2 separate regions of the Homo sapiens genome follow, and region 1 is linked to region 2. The links are contacts of gene promoters, found by promoter capture Hi-C in human tissues and cell types (Jung and others, 2019). All regions are on one chromosome and are shown on one strand. Each heading gives the region's core, a stretch centred on a gene start or on the middle of the fragment in contact. The rest is flanking DNA. Distances are from core to core; before and after follow the strand shown.

Region 1 (4,473 bases), core at 823-3,322, 310 kb before region 2:
ATATGGAACCTGCCAGACCTAAGACACTAGAGTTTAGGGCACTGGTAAATGCAGCCCTATGAAGTTGTGGTGTAAGGCAGAAAAACAGCCCTAGATTTTGGCAGACTTGGACATCTGTCCCTCCTGCTATCAGCGAAGAAAAGTGTCACTGAGTGGCAGATAGAATGTTTTAGCTTCTAGTCCCTCAAACAGTCTCCATGATACAAACACTGACTCAGTTAAGAATCCAGGAAGACTCTTGGAGACTGCGGTTGCTAAGAGTGACGAACTTGAACTGGGTTTGTTCTTTTCTTTGGGAATCCTGCAGCTGTGCGGCATGTAGCACCTGTGCCACCACACTCACGCTCACTGCTCCTCCTTGTGCTGTTGCTCTGTATAAATACACCTCCGATGTTGGCAGCCCACGGCCTGTGATTCAGCCTCTGTAGTGGAGCCCAGGCACCCAATGTGCTAAGAATAGAATTTTCCATTTCAACTTTATTTGCAAGAAGGTTTTCTGTATTTCATTCATCAGGTATTAAAAGTCTACTAAATACCAAGGAATTGTGCAGTGGTATGGGATTACAGTGGTAAGCAAACTGACATGGTCCCACTTTCAAAATGCTCTTTCTCTGGTTGGAGAGAAGGGGTTTTAAAAAGTAAATGCGTCCTCTAGTTTTGAATATTTTAAAAAATGTAAATGCAGCCAGGCACTGTGGCTTATGCTATGCCTGTAATCCCAGCACTCTGGGAGGCTGAGGTGGGAGGATCGCTTGAGCCCGGGAGTTTGAGACCAGCCTGGGCAATGTGGCAAAACCCCATCTCTACAAAAAAATAGAAAAATTAGCCAGGTGTGATGGTGCACGCTAGTCAGTAGTCCCAGCTACTCGGGAGGCTGAGGCAGGAGGTTGAGTCCAGGAGGTTGAGGCTTGAGGCTGCTGCTGTGAGCCGTGATCACACCACTGCACTCCAGCCTGGGTAACAGAGTGAGACTCTGTCTCAAAAAAATAAAAAGAAAATGCAAATACAAATTGTGCTAAGTGTGACTATGATGTCTAAATGCTCCCCTCAGAAATACAGGAGAATGATGCTTCCCACACTCCTATTCATTTCACCTACTTAAAGCTTTCTAAAGCGATTTCCAAACCTTAATGCCACATGAAAAGATACGAAGCCTTTCTGCTGCCTTCAGGGACCTACTTCTAGACTGGAGCTCATCACTGACATCATATGCTAATGTTTCTAGAGCATTTAATGAAAGAGGCATTATGGCATATAATAATTATAACTGTTTTGGTATTTACACCTTTTGATCCAGTCACTTCTGGGCATCCCTCCAAAGGGGATAATGTGGTCCTTAGAAAAAAGCTGTACTGCTAAAGATAGTTACTGGAGCTTTATATATTCAATCAACAAATTAAATACTCAGTTATTACTTTGCTAATGTGAGTAAATTGCTTGACCTCCCTGGGTGGCCTGGGTAAAATGGGGAGATAATCTCTATCTCAAGTTTGTGACAACTAAATGTCTGTGGAAATATCTCCCTAGCACTAGGCTCAACGAAGAGTAGGTGTGCTCTGGATGGGCTCTTTTCACCTTCCCTTTCTAATTATGTTGCATGTTATTATACATATGATGAGAATCTATGCAGTTTTTCTGTTTGTTTGGATGTTTTTTTGAGATGGAGTCTTACTCTATCACCCAGGCTGGAGTGCAGTAGTGCCATCTTGGCTTACTGCAACCTCTGGCTCCCGAGTTCAAGTGATTCTCCCGCCCCAGCCTCCCGAGTAGCTGGGACTACACGTGCACACCACCACGTCCAGCTAATTTTCGTGTTTTTAGTAGAGACAGAGGTTCACCATGTTGGCCAGGCTGGTCTTGAACTCCTGACCCCAGGCAATCCGCCCACCTCGGCCTCCCAAATTGCTTGGATTATAGGTGTGAGCCACCACACTCAGCTTCATAGTTAGTTTTTTGAGTCAGAATTTCACTCTGCCACCCAGACTGGAGTGCGGTGGTACAATTTCGGCTCACTGCAACCTCCGCCTCCTGAGTTAAAGTGATTCTCCTGCCTCAGCCTCCTGAGTAGCTGAAGCTACAGACAGACACCACCACACCTGGCTAATTTTTGTGTTTTTAGTAGAGGCAGGGTTTTGCCATATTGGCCAGGCTGGTCTCACACTCCTGAGCTCAAGAAATTCACCCGCCTCCGTCTTCCAAAGTGCTGGAATTACAGGCGTGAGGCACTGAGCGCGATGGAGAATCTATACAGTTTTATATCACCACCACTCCCCTCAAAATGCGCTGAATTTGGTCAAAAACCATTACTTCTCCCCTTCGCCTGGATTCTGAATGGTAGCATTCAGGTGTCGAGTGGTTGGAGTGTCCTAACTTTGACCACCATCGAGTGCTGTCCTTTCCTTGGGTGCTAACCCACTGCTTCTCCTGGTTCCCAGGCACCCCAGCCTGCTGTCCATGTGCAGGCCAGGAACCCCTGACTGCCTCCATGCTGGCGGCAGCACTTTCCCAAGAACAGAAGCAGGTGCTGAGTGAGTGACCCACGCGCCTACGAAAGAAGAGAGGGCCAGAAGCTGGTGCTGACGCAGACACCAAGGTTACTGAGATTCCGTTTGGTTTTTTATGAACTATCTTCCCCACAGGAGACATTTGTTCCTCCTTATCCAAACAATGCATTCAAACTTGGCTGTAAAGATTGTAGGAAGAGATGCACAGGGCAAGGTGGGAATGGAGAGGGGCTGGTGAGCTTCCATGCCCTCTCTAGGCATGCTGTGTTCCAAGCACATCAATGTATTCACCAACCTGGAAACTCCCCAAACCGCATTTAGAGTGTTTATATGAGGTTTCATTACCTAGGCATGGCTGATTAAACCACTGGGTGTTGGTGATTGAACCCAATTTCCAACCCCCTCCTCTCCTCAGAGGTTGGAGGCGGGAGCTGGAAGTCCCAACCCTCTAATCACATGGTTGGTTTCTCTGATGACCAACCCCCATCCTGAAGCGAGCTAGGGGTTCTACCTTGAGTCATCTGCTTAGCACAAACTTAGGTAGGGTCAAAATGGGCTCATTATGAATAACAAAAGACACAGCACTCAGGATATTCCAATGATTTTAGAAGCTCTGTGCCAGGAACTAGGACAAAGACCAAGTATCTATTTTTTATTATACCACACCACATAAAGGACGCCTGGTCAGATTCTTCCTGAGAGTGACCTTTTGTTTTGGAATAGTGACGGGTACACAAAGAGCTCTCCTAATCAGATCTCACAGCCTCATTCCTATAAGTATCAACTCCCTGGTTTGGCATGAGGTTGGTAAGGTCAGCTGTGTGCGCAGCCACTGCTTAGCTCTGGGAATACAATGGGTACAGGCCGTGGTGTCAAATACCTTCATCTACTGGGAGAGAGAGACATACCTGACTATAGTTATAGGGTGTATTCCAATTGACTTCTGAACTTGGGGACTATGGACTCTGTCTATAGGGGATTTGGGTGAGTGAAGCTTAACTAGGACCTCTGACAAGGACTGGTGGGTGCCTCCAGATGGAGAAAAGAAAGAACTCAATGAGCAAAAGCAGAGGCAAGGAAAAAGAGCCCATGGTAAGTAGGTGAGGAACTGATGTGGAGGTCAGGGTTGACTTGAGGTAGGCATGGACCCCTTGTCAAGGACCTTGTTAGCAGCATCAGTGATTTAGGTAGGGAGTTCTAGAGAATTTAGGTTTATTTTGAAGAAAGATAACCCTAGGCCGGGTGTAGTGGCTCACACTTGTAATCCCAGCACTTTGGGAGGCCGAGGCAGGAGGATCGCTTGAGTCCAGGAGTTTGAGACCAGCCTGGGCAACATGGCAAGACCCTGTCTCTAAAAAAAAAAAAAAAAAAAAAAAATTAGCTGGGCATGGTGACGTGCACCTGTACTCCCAGCTGCTACTCGGGAGGCTAAGGTGGGAGGATCATTTGAGGCTGGGAGGTTGAGGCTGCAGTGAACCATGATCATGTCACTGCCTTCCAGCCTGGGTAAGAGAGCAAGACCCTGTCTCAAAGAAAAAAAGAAAAAAAAAATCACCCTGGACAAGTGGATTGGAGGAACAGAGCCACTATCAACTCTTCCTTAGTCTACTACATTAACTTCCTGGTCTCCTGGGTTCCAATCAACCCATCCTGGGCCTAGTGTCAGAGCACTGTCTAAAATGATGTGAGCATGTAACTCTCCTGTTGTAACTTCAGCAGCTTCTCAAAGCTCCCAAATCTTCCAGAAGGCTTACAGCACCCTCATGATGTGGCCCTCTGCCTACCTTTCCCACCTGATATGCCCTCCACCCCACCATCCCAGGCTCTGGTCTTTTAGTTCCTTGAGTGTGCGGAAGCTGCCTCCTCCTCTCTCTGGCTCCTTTTCCTTCAGAATTCAGCTTAAATGTCACCTCAGGAAGGTCTTAACCCCCTGCTCCATATAAAATAGATGGTCCCATTATTTCCTACC
Region 2 (4,411 bases), core at 1,549-4,048:
TACTTTTCTCCTGCAGGAACCTCTCACCTCAGTCCAGCACAGATTCCCATCTCCACTACTGTTCATTCATGTTTGCTCTGCAAGGATCTATCTGTCCATCTCTGCCTAGGAAATGACTATTCTGAATTCAAGGCACTCACTGAACATGTGCTAGATGAGAACTCACCATGGATGAAGCACTGGGTACTGGACAAGGGGCAAGATCAGCGAGGAGGAAAAAGCTGGAAGACAGAAGGCAGCGTATCTTCTGATGACCACTCCAAATGGAAATATCATTTCCAAAATAGACTGTAAGCTCCATGAGAGCAGTAACAGGGTCTGACTTGTCCACTGCTGGATCCCTAGTTGTGCTTGGTACAAAGTAGCATAGCAATTATTGAACTCTTCCAATAATTGCTACTATGTAGCTCAATAGTTTTTTTTCAGTGCATAAATACATGTGACAGATATTCTTTTATTTATTTTTTTGAGACAGAGTCTCACTCTGTCGCCAGGCTAGAGTAGAGAAGCACGATCTCAGCTTACTGCAACCTCTGCCTCCCGGGTTCAAGCGATTCTCCTGCCTCAGCCTCCCAAATAGCTGGGACTACAGGCGCATGCCACCACGCCCAGCTAATTTTTGTATTTTTTAGTAGAGACGGGGTTTCACCATATTGGCCAGGCTGGTCTTGATCTCTTGACCTCGTTATCTGCCCGCCTCGGCCTCCCAAAATGCTGGGATTACAGGTGTGAGCCACCGCGCCCAGCCCTTCATGTGACGGATATTCTTAAACTATCTTCCCATCTCCTACTGGAGTTACAAATGCATGGATCTAGACTTCTTAAAAGACTGGACATTCCTTAGGGCAGGGGTTGTAACTTAAGTCGTGTGTGCATTCTTTATAATGAAGCATTTTACAAAGTGGTTTCACATACATTACTGCTTCCGTTTCTCATTACAGCCCCATTAATATTCCCCACCTGATGAGGAAACTTTCTTCATTCTCCTTCCTGCTTCCTCTTCTCTCTCCTCTTCCTCTAGAATGCGTGTATGGTCTATGTTCCTTCTGTCTCTAATCCAGAAAGAGATTTAGAATAACTAAATGCAGAGTCAAAGATTATGTCCAAATAAAGTTAGAGTTTGTGTGTGTGTGAGACAGTGTTTTTAGTTAAATGTCAATATTTAAAATATACTATGACTTTTATACCATATTTTTTCATGTTGTCATGTTCTTTTAAACATGCTGGGAGCCATAAAGTTAGGAAGAGGCCCAGTAACCCGTCCAAAGTAACCTGACCAAAGTCTGACCCCTAGTAGAGGGCCTATGCCAGCACTGGAACCCAGTGTCTCCAGATCCAGAGGCATTCACCACCTCAAATCTGCCTCAAATGTCTGCAGTATGGTCTATCACAGGGGCTAATTAAGCTCATGGGATTTAGAGTCAGACAGATGTGTTTCCTTCAAAGTTTCAACAGTTACTTTCTGACCTTGGCAAGTTATTCAGCTTCCTCATTTGAAAACTAGAGGGCATAATGGTACCTACCACCGAGAGTTGCTATTAGGAGTAAATGAAAATACGCTTGAAGAACTCAGCATGGGCCTGGCAAGTAGTCAGCGTGCAGTAAATGGTAGCTGTTATTTTAAGAACTTTATTTGTTGAATGATTGACTCTGGCACATAACGCCTGCATTCAACTTGAAACACGGAGCTGTCACAGTCGTTCAGCTGAAGGGGCGGGAACTGTGGCACTTGCCAATTTTTTCTAGAAATAAATCTTTGTGGGAGGATAATGACCGGTTGGAGAGTGTGAGTCTTGAGGGAACAAAGATCGGATCTCCCGGCCCAAGGAGTACGGAAGCGAAGCCTCCCCTGCGCGCGGCAGCCACCGTGCGTAACCTCCCCTGAACCGAGTAGCAGCCGCCTGAGCCCACCCAGCCCTGGGCGAGGCTGCCTCAGAAGCCGGATTTCAGCAGAGTGGGTGCAGGATCTGCTTTAATTCTGCTCATCTTATTCTCGGGGACCACACCCTGCGCGCCGGGAGGAAGGGCTCCAAAACCACAGGGCGGAGGCTTCCGCGCGGCCCCAGACTTGACCATCTATGGTCACAGAACACACCGACCAAACAGGAAGTGGGGTGAGAGCGGAGGGTTCCCTACCTTCCCAGCCCCGCGACTGCCAGCCGGGCTGGGGCTGACCCACCGCGCCCTCACTGACCCCCACGCCCTGCGCCCAGTCTCCGCAAGTCCTCCCACAACAATGTCCAGACTAATTGCCTTCCCACGTCACAAACGGGGAAACCGAGGTATGCACGCCCAGAGACAGGCGGAGCGTGGCCTCGATCACCACCGAGAGCTGACGGCCGCCCGGATTCCCGCCCTCAGAGAATCCTGGCCCCCAGTCGTTCCAAGACCCTTTACGGACTGCAGCTTAAAGGAACCGGCCTCTGCCATTGAGACCAAACTGACAGAGGAACTGGTCACTCTTCTGTTCTTTCCAGAGAGGAGCTTAGCCAGGGACTTCTGCCCTTCCTGGGCCCGGGCCTCGGGGGCGATTCCGGGTAGGTAAAGCGGAACGAGGGCGTGGCCTCTCTTGTGAGCCCGCCCTCCCCGTGTCGCTCCCGCCTTGAGGGCGGGGCTCTTTCCCAAGTGCCCTCTGTGAGAGCCGGGCCGCTCTCTCCGGGGCGTGGCGAAGAGGGGCGGAGTCACGAGCGGGGCGGTGAGACTTCCTGCCCAGTCGCGGGCCAGCCTAGCGCTTCAGCCGGCGGCTCATTTCCGGTGGGGGCGCCGCGCCCAGTGAGGGCCCGGAAGTGGGTCGCGCGGAGATTGCTGGGCGGTTCTTGCCGGAAGCGGAGAGCGGCTGATCGCAGTCCGGAGGTGAGGCGGAACTCTGAGGTGAGGGTGTGCAGCTTGGTAGGGATTGGGGTCCCTTCCGGGGCCCATCGGCCCCTGGTGGTGTTAATGGCCCTTCTGGCCTACGCGCGTGTCATGAACCCTGCCGAGAGGGCCGGGGCTGAGGCCCTCAGGCCGACCCGGACTCTTGGGCGCGGTCTCTTGAGGTGGGGCCGGGGTGAGCAGCTGAGTCCGGGTGCCCCGGGGAGGCCCCTCTGCCCGATTTCGCAGCGCTGCCCATCAGCTTCAGCGGAGGCCTGATTCCTGAGGTGCTCTGACTGGAAGGAACCTCCGAGATCGGAGAGTCTTCCCTGTCTCCTGTTGATGCTCCCATTGCACTGATAGGTAAATTGATCCCTAGAGAAGAGGCTAGTCTGAGATATATAGCGAGTGAGGAAAAGAATCGGAATCATGATCCTGGTGCCTTAGATAACCAGCCCCAGTTCTTCCCGTGTTGCTCGGAACCTCTCTAACTTGGGATGGTCTTCCGGTCGGTGTTGCCCCGCAGGCTGCTGCAGGTTAAAGGCCAGCGCTGCGTGGAACTTTTTTTTTTCTCTCCTCCCAAATTGAGCCGTTTGAAATGCCTAGGGAGTTTTTAAAAGAAAGGCGGGCACATCCTTGTATTTACAGGCAGATATCCTCCCTTTCCTCCTCGGCTGCTGCTCTTACTTTGACAAGCCAGGCTAACATTGAAGGTATGTACTTCTGGACCTGAAATCAGACGGCTCAGGTTTGGTCTGGCCTCAGTGCTGAGTGTCTGTGGCCATAGGTGCCTTAAACTTCTTTCAGCCTCCTTTTGTTCATCTTTTAAGTGGAGATCTCTGCTGACCCCACAAGATTAAATTCAGCGTAACAAATTGTGTTTATTCTGTGCCAGCATTTTCCCAGATGCGGGGAATGCAGCTTTAAAACAAAACAATGTAGACCCTGCCCGCGTGGAGCTAGCAGTGTTTGCAGGGATGTTTAAGAAGTAATTATAAATGTTGATGAGTGTTAGGAAAGAACAGGGTGCTCTGAAAGTATGTAACAGGGGGTTCAGGAAAAGCCCTTCTGAAGAAGCAGAGTTTTTAAGATGAATTTTGAAGGATAAATAGGAATGCGTTCGAAGAGTGGAATGAGAACATTTGAGACAGGTTAGCATCAGAACTGTGTCAGTTGAAGCTCTTTGTGGGGCTCTCTCTTCAAGAGAAAATCCGGGGGCATATCAGCACATTTATCATTTACCAGACTTTTATTTAATTTATTTATTTGTATTTTTAGTAGAGATGGGGTTTCGCCGTGAAGGCCAGGCTGCTCTCGAACTCCTAACCTCAGGTGATCCCCCCACCTCGGCCTCCCAAAGTGCTGGGATTACGGGCATGATCCACCGTGCCCGGCCCCACCAGACGTTTATTAAGACCTTAATATGTATGAGGCACATTTTAATGAGATAGCCTTTGTGGCAAAGAATACAGTTCTTCTGGAGTTTACAGTGGGAGAGGAAATAGACAAGTAAATGAGGGATGGCTTACAGTGTCATAGTGCATAGCACAGGGCTACAAGA

Evidence for each region. Contacts are between HindIII fragments. The study calls those that stand out against the background at their distance.
Region 1: a fragment that was not itself captured here is called in contact with the fragment with the promoter of CAP1 in region 2 in 1 of the 25 tissues and cell types used here (dorsolateral prefrontal cortex).

The regions. Positions count from the first base shown.
Region 1 is chr1:39,733,033-39,737,505 of GRCh38, forward strand. No RefSeq gene overlaps it. Among named protein-coding and RNA genes, the nearest start is that of PPIE, 3.6 kb to the right of the region's middle. The HindIII fragment of the contact is 4,491 bases long and covers 1-4,318 here.
Region 2 is chr1:40,037,931-40,042,341 of GRCh38, forward strand. CAP1 (cyclase associated actin cytoskeleton regulatory protein 1) reads left to right here and starts at 2,799. Exons shown (of 13, transcript NM_006367.4): 1 at 2,799-2,871. It overlaps LOC105378669 (a long non-coding RNA gene), which reads right to left and starts at 2,516. Exons shown (of 3, transcript XR_001738013.3): 1 at 961-2,516; 2 at 167-221. RefSeq lists enhancers at 1,817-2,450, 2,419-2,488, 2,451-3,085, 2,739-2,938, 3,009-3,098. The HindIII fragment of the contact is 19,514 bases long and covers 1-4,411 here.